Linked DNA regions of Homo sapiens: regions 1 and 2 are each linked to region 3. Evidence: promoter capture Hi-C in 16 types of primary human blood cells and fetal thymus (Javierre and others, 2016). All regions are on one chromosome and are shown on one strand. Each heading gives the region's core, a stretch centred on a gene start or on the middle of the fragment in contact. The rest is flanking DNA. Distances are from core to core; before and after follow the strand shown. Region 1 has its middle 55 kb from the start of FRMD4B. Region 2 overlaps FRMD4B (FERM domain containing 4B). Region 3 holds the start of EOGT (EGF domain specific O-linked N-acetylglucosamine transferase).

Region 1 (4,463 bases), core at 1,948-4,447, 430 kb after region 3:
GCGACAGCACACATCCTCATGATTCTCCTTCTGTACAGAGGCCTCCCTGTTTAGTTGTGAGAGGTGTTTGGGGCACAACCTACATGAGAGTACATGGCAGTACTGTGTGGGTATATGCAGGAATTTCTCCTGGTAAATCTCACCTGGGGTGGTCCAATCCTCCAAGGTATTATTTGGAAATGTGGGAGAATCTTTCGTGAGATGGGGATGGAATGGGGCAGGGGATGCTAAATTTTGTACAGTGCATGAGAGTCCTAAATATTTTGTCCCCCACAAAATACCAAGAGTCCCTCCTTTGAGAAATGCTGCTGATTTCTGTCCCGAAGTAGAATCTTTGTGTGGTAGAATCTGTGTGTTTAGAAGTCTAACTAGGGAATGACAACTTGCTCTCCAAAGTGCCACCTGCCACAGCTCAGAGTGCCTGTTTACCTCAATTCTTTGCCAAGTCTCATTGTCAGCCTTTTGAATTTCTGCTATTGTGACGGGCATAAAATGCAGTTTCATTATGATTTTTAAACTTGCATTTCCTGCTTTTATTAGCACTGTGGAAAACCTTTTCAATTTTTACTGCTCATTCATGTCTCCCCCTTGTGGAAGTGCCTGTTAATAAGCTGTCTATTTTTCTATTGGGTAGTTTAAATTTCCCTTTTTGATTTGTAGGAGTTCATTAGAGATTCTGGAAACTTGCTTTTGGTAGTTATTTGGGGTTGCAAATGCCTTCTACCAGTTTGTTGTTTGTCTTTTTATTTTATGGTGCCATGTTATGCAGAAGTTATACATTTTGATATAGTGAAATTCATCCAAACTTGAGTGTGACTTTTGAGACTCTAGTTTATAAAATCTACTTTATTCTAAGATTCCTTTCTCCCCATCTAAAGGTTTTACATTTTTATTTCTTATATTTAAGTTTTTAATCCATCTCACAATTTATTCTTGTACAAACTGTTATGTAAGAATCTGATTTTTTCTTCTTACAGGCTATCAGTTGTAACAATACCATTTACTTTTGATACTGTGTTTTCCTCTGTAACTTCTAAAGCATCCTATATCATATAGAAAGAACCATATTTGTTTAGTTCATCATTGGGCTCTCTTTTCTGTCCTATTGATCTATTTTTCAATTACCCTTCACCAGTAATACTGTCTATGGCTTTATAATAAATTTTGATAGAGGAACTCCTAATCTTTTATTCTTTCACAAAACTCCCTTATTAAATTCTTGAATGTGGCTGGGCATGGTGGCTCATGCCTGTAATCCCAGCACTTTGGGAAGCCAAGGCAGGTGGATCACTTGAGGCCAGGAGCTTGAGATCAGCCTGGCCAACGTGGGGAAAACCCATCTCTACTAAAAAAAATACAAAAATTAGCCAGGTGTGGTGATGCACCCCTGTAATCCCAGCTACTTGAGGGGCTAAGGCACAAGAATCGCTTGAACCTGGGAGGCAGAGGTTGCACTGAGGCAAGATCATGCCATTGCACTCCAGCCTTGGCAACAGAGCAAGAGACTCTGTCAAAAAAAAAAATTCTTGAATACTTACATTTGCATTCATATTTCAGAATGCTGGGGATTTTGCTTAGAACTACAATGAATTTGTAAATACTCAACATTTCATGATATTGATCTTCCTTTCCACGTATATGGTATATCTTGTCATTTCTTTAGCTCTTTTAAAAATAATTTACAATAACCTTTTTTTCCTGAAGCAGATGTATATTTTCTTAAAACGTACTCTGAGTTTCTGAGTGGTTTTGAGCTCTGGAGTGATTTTTTTGAAACCCAAATCTGAAGATAGCAAATCATCCCTCCCTGAATGTAGCTCCCCTGAGGCTTTCTGTTACACTAAGAATGAAATTTGAACTCCATACTGGAGCATGATTATAGGACATGGTTTCCTATCTTCCTCCTGGACTTTTATTGTATGTTCTGTTAGTCATTAAGCTTTAGCCACAGTGGTTTTCTTTACTTTTTTTTCTAAGGTTAGTCAAGTGAGGCAGTGAGAGTGGAGTGGTTTTCTTTATGTACTCAAACATACCAAGCTAATTTTATTTTGGGACCCTTGTCCTTGAGGCTGTGTTTTTTCTGGAATCTTGTTCCCCAGATATGCATATGGCTAGTTTCTTCCTGCTGTTTGGGCCTCGGTTCAGATGTCTTCTCTCAGAGAAACTATCCCTGCCCACCAGAGAGTAGCCCTCCAACCATCCGTAATGACATAGCTTCTTTATTTCTTCACAGCACTTGCCACAATTTGAATTTATCTTCTTTGAACTCTTTATTGGTGTATTATTCCCCACGATATACTATAAGCTCCACATGATTGAGGACCTTGCTGCCTTGTTCTTTTCTGTGTCCCCAGAACCTACAGCAATTCCTGGCACATGGCAGCTGTTCAGTGAATATGAGCTGAATGGATAACTGAGTGGAAAAATGAACTCACGTGGATCTCCCCTAATGCCCCTGGTTGCTCCTCCTGTGTCCTCTTATATCAACAAAGGGGTATTTCCTTTCTCCCATATATTAGCAGTAAATAATGATGTAAGACATTTCTAGTCTCTTGAACAAATAGTTTAACTGCAGAAATACTTACAAAACGGATTCCAAACACATTTATGTTCTGCATTCCAGGTTTCCAAGTGGCTTAGAACAGTGAAAGTGCCACTGTCTATTCGGCCCATTTCTACTCCTAAGAGATAGCTATTAAGTTTATTTGCATAAATCCAGAAACCATTTATCCATTTACAAATCTCCAGCTATCTAATCTATCTCAGATTACACAATCTGAATGATTCACCAAAGAAGTTTCTTTTTTTTTTTTTTGAGATGGGGTCTCACTCTGTCACTCAGGCTGTGATGCAATCATAGCTTGCAGCCTTGAACTCCTGTACTCAAGCAGTCCTCCTAACTCAGCCCCCTGAGTAGCTGGAATTACAAGTGCACACCATCATGCTCAGTTAATTTTTAAATTTTTTTTAGAGATGGGATCTCACTATATTGTCCAGGCTGGTCTCAAACTCCTGGCCTCAAGTGAACCTCCTGCTTCAGCCTCCCAAAGTGCTGGGATTACAGGCATGAGCCACTATGCCCTGCCAATAAGTTTTATTCTATTGAAAAATTGTTATTTTTAAGTGAATCTGAGTTTGTTAAGAAGGCAGATTGTCAATCCCACTTCTAGAGGTTCTGATTCCACAAACCAGGGGTGGGGCCTTCATTTTCAACAAGCACTCTAGATCATTCTAACATAGGTAGTCCAAAAACCACTTATGAGAAATACTCATAAGTGAGTATTTATGAGTATTAAATACTAGGTTAAGGCAATTTAATGCCATCCTTATTTAAGATGATGCAGCCTCCCAAATACTAGGGGGCAGATGGAGCCATACGTGCACCCACTGACGTCCTATGTCATGTCCTCTTTGCCCAAGAAGAGGGCATTGCGGATCCATGTGCCTCCACTGAAGCCCTGACAACCAGACCTGCTTATGAAGCCACATAAACATTATCAGGGCAACAGCTCAAACAGGCAGTGAGGAAATGGGTTCTAGACTCTGAGTGGCTTTGGGCCAGTTTCTTCATATGCACAATGAGAAGGTGGGCCAGTGTGATGTTATGATAGAATAAGAAATCTGTTTGTTCTTCCCCAGTTCCTGGCAAAGAGCTTCTGAAATTCTTGTAACTTCGGAGTGATTGGGGTGAGAGAAGCATCTTTTGTTACTCATAATAAGCCCCTTTCAACCACATCTGAGTTTATGTTAATGAGATGGCTGGGGGATTCCAGCCCCACACAGCTTCAGGGTGGGGGCTGGTTGCCAGAGGAACCAACCATGTGATTACAGGGTTGGAAATTTCAGTCCCACCCCCTGACCCCCAGGGAGGGGAGAGGGGCTGGAGGTTGAGTTCAGTCACCAGTGGCCACAATTTACTCAATCATGCCTAACTAATGGAACCTCCATAAAAACCCTGAACAATGGGGTTTGGAGAGCCTCCTGGTGAATGCATTCACTTTTTGGGAGAGCGGCACATCCCAAACTCCACTGGCACAGAAACTCCTGCTTTTTGGACCCCTCTGGACTTTATATATACATCTCCATCTGGCTGTTTGTCTGTATCCTTTATAATATCTTTTCTAATGAACTGGTAAGTGAAGTGTTTCTCTGAGTTCTATGAGCTATTATAGCTAATTGTCAAACCTGAGCAGGAGGTCATAGGAACCCCTAATTTGTAGTTAAGTTGGTCAAAAGTGCAGAGGGCCCAGGACTTGCAATTGGCATCTGAAATGGGGTAGTCTTATGGGACTGAGCCCTTAACCTGTGAGGCCAAAACCACCTTTGCAAAATTATGACAGTAAGAGAAATCTGACACAGCCAACTCCATCTTGCTTCCAGCAACACACACTTGCTGTCCTCACTCATTCCTGGGTGTAGGCCAAGCTAACTTTCAAAGGAATTTGGTTTATAGTTTAAGCTTA
Region 2 (4,379 bases), core at 1,206-3,705, 300 kb after region 3:
AGCTTTACCAAAGACAAAAGACGCATGTGGCATCTAGGCTGGAAAATAAACTCAGACGGCATCCTGGGAGGGCCCTCACTCAGTGGTTTTACGGGGGCGAAGGGAGGCAGGAGGAAAGTGCTGAAAGAAAATACTTTCCAAAAATATTTACCAAAGAAAAAGAACTAGGCTTGTGACCAAGACATTCCAAGGAGACACCCTTAGACATAAGCAATATTCCAGGCCCGCTCCCCAGAAAGGTAGAAATGGCCAATTTCCACCCCCTCAACAGCCCCGCTCATACTTCTTCTGAAAATAAACACGACTAGAGCCAGGAGACACCTCCCCAAACTGGTCATAATTCAAAAAGAGACTCTGCCGTCACTTGCCGGGGAGTGCACAGAGGACATTGTGGAGCCGGGGTTCTTGGAAAGACCATGACTATAGTTACCTCCTTTGGTTGAACCAAAGGAGGTAACTGGGAAAAAGGCTGTGTGAACCATTCTTCTCCCAGCGTAGTTTTGAGAAAGAAATCTCAGGGCAGACAACAAGAAGGGTGGCCCAAATAACTGAAGGAAGTCATTCCCATTATTCCTTTTCTTTTCCTTTTTGGACAGTGTCTCGCTTTGTCACCCAGGCTGGAGTGGCACAATCTCGGTTCACTGCAACCTCCACCTCCTGGGTTTAAGTGATCCTCATGCCTCAGGTGCCTGAGTAGCTGGGATTACAGGCGCCCACCACCACGCCCAGCTAATTTTTGTATTTTTAGTAAGACGGGGTTTTGCCGTGTTGCCCAGGCTGGTCACAAACTCCTGACCTCAGGTGATCCACCCTCCTCAGCCTCCAAAGTGTTGAGATTACAGGCGTGAGCCACCACACCCGGCCTACTATTTCTTTTCTTTCCGAAGAGAAGGTCTTACAGTCTGAACCCCTTACTTACGCACTGTCTGGTTTATATTCAACTGAGCTTGGAGCTTTTCCTGAAGCCTCCCATGTGGCCAGGACCCTCTTTTCCAGTCTGCCACAAACCTTGCAGTCTGAGGGACCTCTGACACTGCAAGTCAAAGCCGCATTCCTCCTCCCTATAACATCCTTCCATGGACTGGGTGTGCCTCCTCCATCTGTGTGACTAACAAGGCTCACCTATGATCTTGTCCCCACGATCAGGCCAACGTCTTCACCCTTGGGCAAATGTACCTTGTTCGTTGCCATGTTCATGCATTTGCCCACAAAATAACTCTTGCCTAGGATGTCACCTCTCATCTCCCCTCCCATCTATTTAAAGTCTACCTTACCTGCAAGATCCAATTTTAGTTACTCGTCTGTGTGACGCCTGCTCCAGTCCTCCTTCAGTTTCCTTCTTAACACTCCCTTACTGCAGTACATTGGGATGACAGCTCCCTTTTATTGTGGGCCGGTGCTATATGCTCTGCCTACCTTACCTGATTTAATAGTATTGAATACTAGTACCCTATTACAGGTGCCTTATGTAGTACATACTATATAAGGCACTGTTATTATGTCCAGCGTACAGATGAGAAAACTTGAGTGTCAGAGATGTTAAGTAACTGTTCTAAGGTCACACAGCTAGCTATCAAGATTCTCTGATACCTGCTCCTACCTCCCTCTCAACCCTCCTCCTGTACCACTTTCCCTCTTAATCTCTGTACTCTCATCACACTGGCTTTTTTTTTTTTTGTTTGGGACAGGATCTCACTCTGTCACTTGGGCTGGAGTGCAGTGGTGAGATCATGGCTCACTGCAACCTCCACTTTCTGGGCTCATGCAATCCTCCCACCTAAGCCTCCCGAGGAGCTGGGACTACAGGTGTGCACCATCATGCCCCCTTAATGTTTTTGCATTTTTAGTAGAGATGGGGTTTCACCATGTTGCCCAGGCTGGTCTGGAATTCCTAGGCTCAAGTGATCTGACTGCCTCAGCCTCCCAAAGTGCTGGGATTAGAGGTGTGAGCCACTGTGCCCGGCCTTGTTTTTTTTCTCGCAAAAAACAAATCACAAAAGTCATGCTTAGCCCCACCTCAGGACTTTTGCACTGGTTTTTGTTTGTAATGTCTCCCCAAATTTTTGCAGAACTGGCTCTTGCTTTTCATTACATGTCACCTCCTAGATCCTGTCCTAGCCCACCCTGTCTAAAACTGAACCCAAGTTTTCTTGGTCATGGCCTTTTATGTTCTTCAATGCACTTATAATTGCTGATATTCCTTTGATTTATCTGTTTGTTTACTTGTTATGCTAGACTATAGCATTGCAATATGAGCTCCATAAAAGCAGGGGCCTTGTCTGTGTTACTCCTAGCTGAATCCTCGTGATATAGAACAACACCTGGCATTGAGTGGGCATTCAAAAAATATTTTATTTTCTATTTTTAGAGATGGGTTCTTGCTCTATTGCCTAGGCTGGTGTGCAGTGGCATGATCATAAACTCACTGTAGCCTTGAACTCCTAGGCTCATGCAATCCTCCCACCTCAGCCTCAGCCTCCTGAGTGGCTAGGACTGGAGTTGCACATCACCACACCTGGCTGATTTTTAATTTTTTTTTTTTTTTTCGTAGAGATGGGGTCTCACTATGTTGCCTAGGCTGGTCTTGAACTCCTGGCCTCATGCAATACTCCCTCCCTTGGTCTCCAAAAGTGTTAGGATCACAGGTGTGAGCCACTCTTAATGTAAATATATATATATACTTGAGACAAGGTCTCACTCTGTCGCCCAGGCTGGATGGCAGTAGTGCCATCATCATAGCTCACGGCAGCCTCAACCTCCTGGGCTCAAGTTGTCCTCCCACCTCAGCCTCCCGAGTAGCTGGGACTACAGATGTGTCACCATACCTGGCTGATTTTTTTTTTTTTTTTTTTTGTAGATATGGGGTCTCCCTATGTTACCTAGGTGGCTCTGAAACTCCTGTACTCAAGGGATCTGCCCATCTCGGCCCTCCAAAGTGCGGGGATTACAAGTGTGAACTATCACACCCGGCCAATATTTTTTCAATGAATAAATTACTCCAATATTCATGTTGTTAACCCCTATTCTATGTGACCTCTGCCTAAATTATAGTGCTTATAGCAGTTACAGTTTATACCATATAACCTAGCCATTGTATATTTATGGCTTTATGTCTTATACTGTTTGCTATGATTTCATCCACATTTGGATTCAGCCTATGTGTGTGCGTGTTCAATCACTGATTCGCAGGAGCTGGTGCTGGCTATGCATGTCGGCATTTCCCATTTCATCCAGTAGAGGACAGGTCATACAGAGCCTCTCAAATGGTAGCTGTTGAGTGATTCAGAGTGAGGTGAGAGATGTCTAGTGTACTTTCTTCTGCCTTGTTGAGCCCTCTTTGGGAAACATCCTCAGTCCAGAATCAAGTTTTCAGGTTTTTCTATTCCTCCTGATAATTCAGCTGCTTGGTTTTTGCCCAGTGCAAGTCCTGAGCCTGCTGGCATATTCTGGAGGTCCTAGGCTCACAGCCCACCCAGGCTGGGAATAATCAGAAGCCACAAGGTGTTAAAAGCAAATTAACTCCTTCTTGAGATGATTTTCCACCTGATTAAACTAAAGAACTGAAAAATATTTAAATTGGCAGCATTATGAAAAGAATGCTGGATGGTTGGCCAACATATTTTATGTCTGGAACACATCTTCTTGCATTTTAACATTTAAGGAGCTCTTTGGAAATTATCTGCAGAAAGTGGAAGGATTCCTCTGATAATGTATCGGGCTGCATAAAATGTAGGCAAATTGGGCTGCCATAAAAAAGACAGACAGATACACACAGACAAACACACACACACACACACACACACACACAGAGAGAGAGAGAGAGAGAGAGAGAGAGAGAAAAGAGCTAGTAAATCCAAACACATTTGCTTAGAGTGTTAAATTCTCATGAATTTATTTTTATTTACCTGCCTTGTTTTGGGGAGCATATATATTGTTGACAAATATATACAACATTCAACAACTTAGCATAAAAGGCAAAAGTGAAAAAAAAAAGAAAAAGATAGTTGAGAAGGCAACATAAAATGGACCTAAGTGGTAGTTTAAAAGTTCATTCCATATTAAACTATATACATGTTTTTTAGTGGGCCACAAATTTGCCTTTAAGCTCTCTTGCCACCAACACCAACACATCCACTCAGTTTCAAGATGTGAGTAAATATCTAATATTTCTACCATATAAGCTAAATTAGCAAGCACAATCACATTCAAAGACATGAGAAGATACACTGTAATCGGGAATAACAAACTCATTACTACACATTTCTAAAACATTTAGAACAATATTTTGAGTTCCTAAAATGGTCAGTATCCCTTTTCTTCTCCCTTTGCCATAATCCTAGGAGAAAAATCGCATATTAAAAAACCTTTAGCTAAGCAGG
Region 3 (4,880 bases), core at 855-3,354:
AGGGAGACTCTGTCTCAAAAAAAAAAAAAAACAAAGAAAGAAAGAAGAAAAGGAAATTGACTGCTATGTTCCATCAAACCTCAAGTTCCAAGGCCATGGAATTCTAAGTGAACAGTGGGGACACCAAAAAGGAATCCTTTTTCCCCCATTTTCCCCCCTTGGAGTAGTTAAGTATTGTGGTTTTTCACTTTGGCGGCCCTCAAGAGTATGGTGTTATCTGCTGTAAATCTGATCTGAATTACAATAACATTTTCACTTGGAGCTTTTATCCAAGAATGAGTTGACAGCAGTTTTATAAAAATTTAAAAACACATATTAATAGTAACAATGACTCTACTTGTAATAAAAATATATACCTCTTGAATCTTCAGAACCACTCAGAAGCTTCTGTGATGTTTCAGGTCTCTAAAACCTGTCAGAAATGAAACATATTACCTTAAAAGGATGCTAAAGTAAACCTGATCATTCAGATGATGTTGTGAATTAAAGGAAATATTAAGAAAGAAAATAATGTAACGTGATAACTCTCAGCCAGAAGGCCTGGCCGGTGGTGCGCTTTCTTTTCCTTAATGAATACCACACTGCTATACTCGAGTTCACAGGCACCACCCCCAACACAGCAACTCGGACCAGATTCCAATGGGGAACGGGAGGAGGTGGCCCACTTTCTACAGGCATCCACTGGAACTGGCCAACAGGATACTTAGTGGATCAAACATTCCCAGAAGCAAACAACTTTCCCATTCTCACAGCAGTAATCCCACTGGCTGAATCACAGGGCTACCCACCTAGAGTGGCGAGCCTGAGGGTTCCCAGGCCTTCCTATTTTTTGACTCGTCCTTCCCGGTAATAAAGTCATTGTTATGACCAAGCCCTGACCTTTGGTTATCCAAGTCCATTGTCCTCCAGTGAGCTCTGGCCATCACTAAACTCACCGATCAGTGGAGAAGTAACGCTTAGGCGATGGAAAAAATCTAAAGACGCAGATCAGAAAGCTGGCGTCTGGCGAGGGCATGTACCCACTTGCATAAGGCGGCTGGGGGTGGCTGCTGGGCCTGGCACAAAGCCTTCCTGGTGTCGGTCGTCCTGCAAGGCCCGCCGGGATGGGTGGCTGCACTCCTCCAGCACACGGACGCTTTACTGGCCAGGCTACTTTTCCTTCAGCTCAAAGCAGCTGGAATCACTCCACTCCAGAAACCCTTGATTCGATTTCCACAGGCCTAATGAGGAAGGAAAAAAGGGAAACATCTGAAAGATGATGGATAGGAGGCAAAACCTGGGGTTGACACAGCGGGCGAAATGGGGCAATGTCGCAGAGAGAGAGAGCTTGGAAAAGTTTAAAGACGGCAGTGGGCAAATGGAAAGTTCAACACGTGAGACCCCGAATGACACCTCAACGGCTGGCCCCTACTTGTGCCAAAAAGTCTCTCGGCGGGTGCCAGGCAGGGCTCAGGAAGTGCTCGGCTGCCCCTTGAACGTCAGTCCCGGCAGAGCCCAGCTGTCCGCTTGAACGTCAGTCCCGGCCAAGGGCTGAGGGGTCAGTGGCGAGCACCCCGCCGCGGCTGAGACGCCGCGCTGGGGTTCCGGACCCCGGGCGCCGCCAGGGATTGCTTCGGGGTCGGTGATCTCCCGGGGCCGCCCGCCACCGTGCACCGCGGCGCCCCGGGTCCCCAGCGCGCCTGGGAGGGGCCCCGGGGAGCGGCTCCGCCCCGGCTGGAAACCTGGTCAACGCGGCTAGGGCCCGGGGCCCGCCTGCGCTCCGGGCGCTGGGAAGGGGCCGGGCGCCCGGGGCCGGGGAGGGCCAGGATCGGCTTCCGACGCCCGCCTCCCGGCCCGCAGGGAATGGGAAGGCGCGGGCGGAGTGCGTGCGTAGGCTATAGCCCTCCGGGAAGCCGCGCCGGGAGCGGCTACCACCCGGGCAAGAACAGCGCAGAGCGCTGCGGCGGCGGGAAGGAGAGCGGGGGAAGGCTCCGCAGATTGCGGGGGAGTCCCACCTGGAGCCGGGGCAGCCGTGAACTACCGAGGAGGAGGCGGAGGAGACGGCGGCTGTTCCAGAGGAGGGAGTCGTCATAACCGGCTACTGCCGCTCACCGGAAACCTCGGGCGCGGGAGCTGGGCCAGGGGGCGCCAAGGAGCAGCTGGGACACCTTGGCCAGCCGGCGCCGTGGGCGGGCTCGGGCCCCGCAGAGGCAGGACCGGGACTACACCCAGGAGGGCCAGGGCGCGGGGCCCGACGCTCGGAGCGGCTTCAGCCCGGCGAGCGGCCTCGACCCGGCGAGCGCAGCAGGGAGGGGCTCAGAGTCGAGGAACCATCTGCCCTTCCTGGCGTTCTCCCGCGAACGTTCGCGCGAGTCCGCCAGCTCCCTCACCAGGGCCGGAAAGACCGACGGCACGTGCCGGCGCCGGACGCCCATCTCCATCGCAGCAGCCCGCGCCTCCTTGAGCGAGAGCGTTAAAGCGCTCAGAGGATGTTAGGACGGGGTGGGTAGAAAACCTGACTCTTCGTGTCTTCTGCGTTGCACTGAGGTGGATTTTTACTTTTGTCTTATTTCAAGCAGAAGTTGCCGCCCTAACTTCCAAATTTGGGGACTGAACATCGTTCACCGAATACACTTTGTGATGGTGAGGATACTTTGGAGTCCACACACATTTTAAAAGCAGTATAGTTTTACCTATCCGTAAACTCATCAAGTTCAAATGCTACTCTGTGGAGTTTAATTTTTATGGTTTTGTTAATTTACTTTATTACTGCTTATAATTATTTGAACTCCCATCCCCCACTGTCTTTTCCTCTAAGCTCCCCCAGGCCTAGTATTCCATCTACAGCACAGTAGAGTTGATCATTAAATAGTGACTAAAGTTGAACTGATTATATGAAGGTGATGACTTCAAAATAAACATGCTCAAATGAATATAGTCACCAGAAGTTAAATAATATGATCATAAGGAAACAAGTTTGTTTCCAAAGGCTTACATGCTTTTTACGTAATTTTTAAAAGTAATGTTGTTTAAGAATTGTTACAAGTTCCATTAGTGACCTGCTAAATTAGGAATCTTACCTGGAATTTTTTTCAAATAATAACAGCAAGAACATGTGGTGTTTAACATGTGCCAAACATTGTTTTAAAGCACTTTACAGTATTAATTTATTCTTTTTATTGAAAAGATTTTGCCTCTAAGGGAACTGTCAAGAGGCATGTGAACCGGAGCAACTCCATCTTAAATAGGAGCTGAGTAAAATGAGGCTGAAACCTACTGGGCTGCATTCCCAGGCCGTTAAAGCATTCTAAGTCGCAGAATGAGATAGGAAGTCGGCACAAGATACAGGTCATAAAGACCTTGTTGATAAAACAGGTTGCAGTAAATAAGCCGGCTAAATCCCACCAAAACCAAGATGGCCATGAAAGAGACCTCTGGTAGTCCTTACTACTATACTCCTATCAGCGCCATGACAGTTTACGAATGCCATGGCAATGTCAGGAAGTTACCCTATATGGTCTTAAAAGGGGAGGCATGAATAATCCACCTGTTTAGCATATCATCAAGAAATAACCATAAAAATGGGCAACCAGCAGCACTCAGGGCTGCTTTGTCTATGGAGTAGCCATTCTTTTCTTCCTTTACTTTCTTTTTTTTTTTCCTTTACTTTCTTAACAAACTTGCTTACACTTTGCCCTGAATTCTTTCTTGCTCGAGATCCAAGAACCCTCTCTTGGGGTCTGGATTGGGACCCCTTTCCTATAACAGAATTACTGCTCTATTATTTTATACTTTGCATACTTCACCATCCCACACTAATGACAGTAATTTTTTAAAATGCTTCCTCAAGCCAGGCACTGTGGCTCATGCCAGTAGTCCCAGCTACTCAGGATGATCGCTTGAGCCCAGTGAGGTTGAGGCTGCAGTGAGCCATGATTGAGACACTGCACTCTAGCCTGGGCCACAGTGAGACCCTGTCTCATAAAAAAAAAAAAAAAAAGCTTCCTCAGCCTACTTGCTACCATCCTATTTTTGTCACATACAAAAAGGTTAAAATCAGTATGACATGTGCATGGTACTATTTTATTTTATTTTTTTTGTAGAAACAGGTTCTTGCTATGTTCCCAGCACTTGTTTCCAACTCCGGGCCTCAAGTGATCTTCCAGCCTCGGCCTCCTAAAGTGCTGGGTTTACAGTTGTGAGCCACCACGCCTGGCTATGTGGTGCTATTTTAAACACCTACATATTGAATGGTCATTCAGACTTACAGGAAACCAGATATGATAAACCTGAACATGAGATTGAGTCTCTCTTACTGTAACAGCCATTCTCAAATAGAATTTCTCTCCAAAATACCAATGTTAGAATTTAAATTTTCTTTGAGCTGACATAAAACTCAAGTGTCTACCAATAGAAGGCTGGTTGAATAAACTATGGTTTATCCATACAATGTAAAACTATGCATGCATAAAAAGGAATTGAGAAATATCTCTGTACACTACAGAATATTGAGTGGGAAAAGGATATGTAATATGTAAATATCATTTTTCTAAGAGGAATATGTGTGTATACATGTGTATACACATATATATTTACTAATTATTATTTTACAAGTAGATTAACATTTAAAATGACTATATGGGCAAGGAGGGAAGAGGAGGGGTATAAGGAACAAAGAAGACATGACTTTGTTTTTTGGTGTGTGTGTGTGTGTGTGTGTGTATGTGTGTGTGTGTGTGTGTGACAGAGTCTTACTCTTTTGCCCAGGCTGGAGTACAATGGTGCAATCTTGGCTCACTGCAACCTCCATCTCCTGGGTTCAAGCAATTCTTCTCCCTCAGACTCCTGAGTAACTGCGATTACAGGCATGCGCCACCATGCCTGACAAATATTTATATTTT

Evidence for each region. The method cuts DNA at HindIII sites, captures the fragments that hold promoters and counts their contacts. A CHiCAGO score of 5 or more calls a contact.
Region 1: a contact is called between a fragment that was not itself captured here and the fragment with the promoter of EOGT in region 3, in 1 of 17 cell types (activated CD4 T cells). The highest score is 5.3, in activated CD4 T cells.
Region 2: a fragment that was not itself captured here is called in contact with the fragment with the promoter of EOGT in region 3 in 1 of 17 cell types (total CD4 T cells); the score reaches 6.6 in total CD4 T cells.

What each region holds. Positions count from the first base shown.
Region 1 is chr3:69,439,296-69,443,758 of GRCh38, forward strand. It overlaps a transcript of FRMD4B not described here. Among named protein-coding and RNA genes, the nearest start is that of FRMD4B, 55 kb to the left of the region's middle. The HindIII fragment of the contact is 2,520 bases long and covers 1,938-4,457 here.
Region 2 is chr3:69,306,775-69,311,153 of GRCh38, forward strand. The region is part of intron 3 of FRMD4B (FERM domain containing 4B); the gene reads right to left. Among named protein-coding and RNA genes, the nearest start is that of FRMD4B, 77 kb to the right of the region's middle. The HindIII fragment of the contact is 5,597 bases long and covers 1-4,379 here.
Region 3 is chr3:69,011,580-69,016,459 of GRCh38, forward strand. It overlaps EOGT (EGF domain specific O-linked N-acetylglucosamine transferase), which reads right to left and starts at 2,105. Exons shown (of 18, transcript NM_001278689.2): 1 at 1,995-2,105; 2 at 936-1,220; 3 at 357-412. EOGT-DT (EOGT divergent transcript) reads left to right here and starts at 1,541. Exons shown (of 1, transcript NR_185971.1): 1 at 1,541-4,880. RefSeq lists silencers at 1,423-1,972, 2,033-2,332. The HindIII fragment of the contact is 3,596 bases long and covers 383-3,978 here.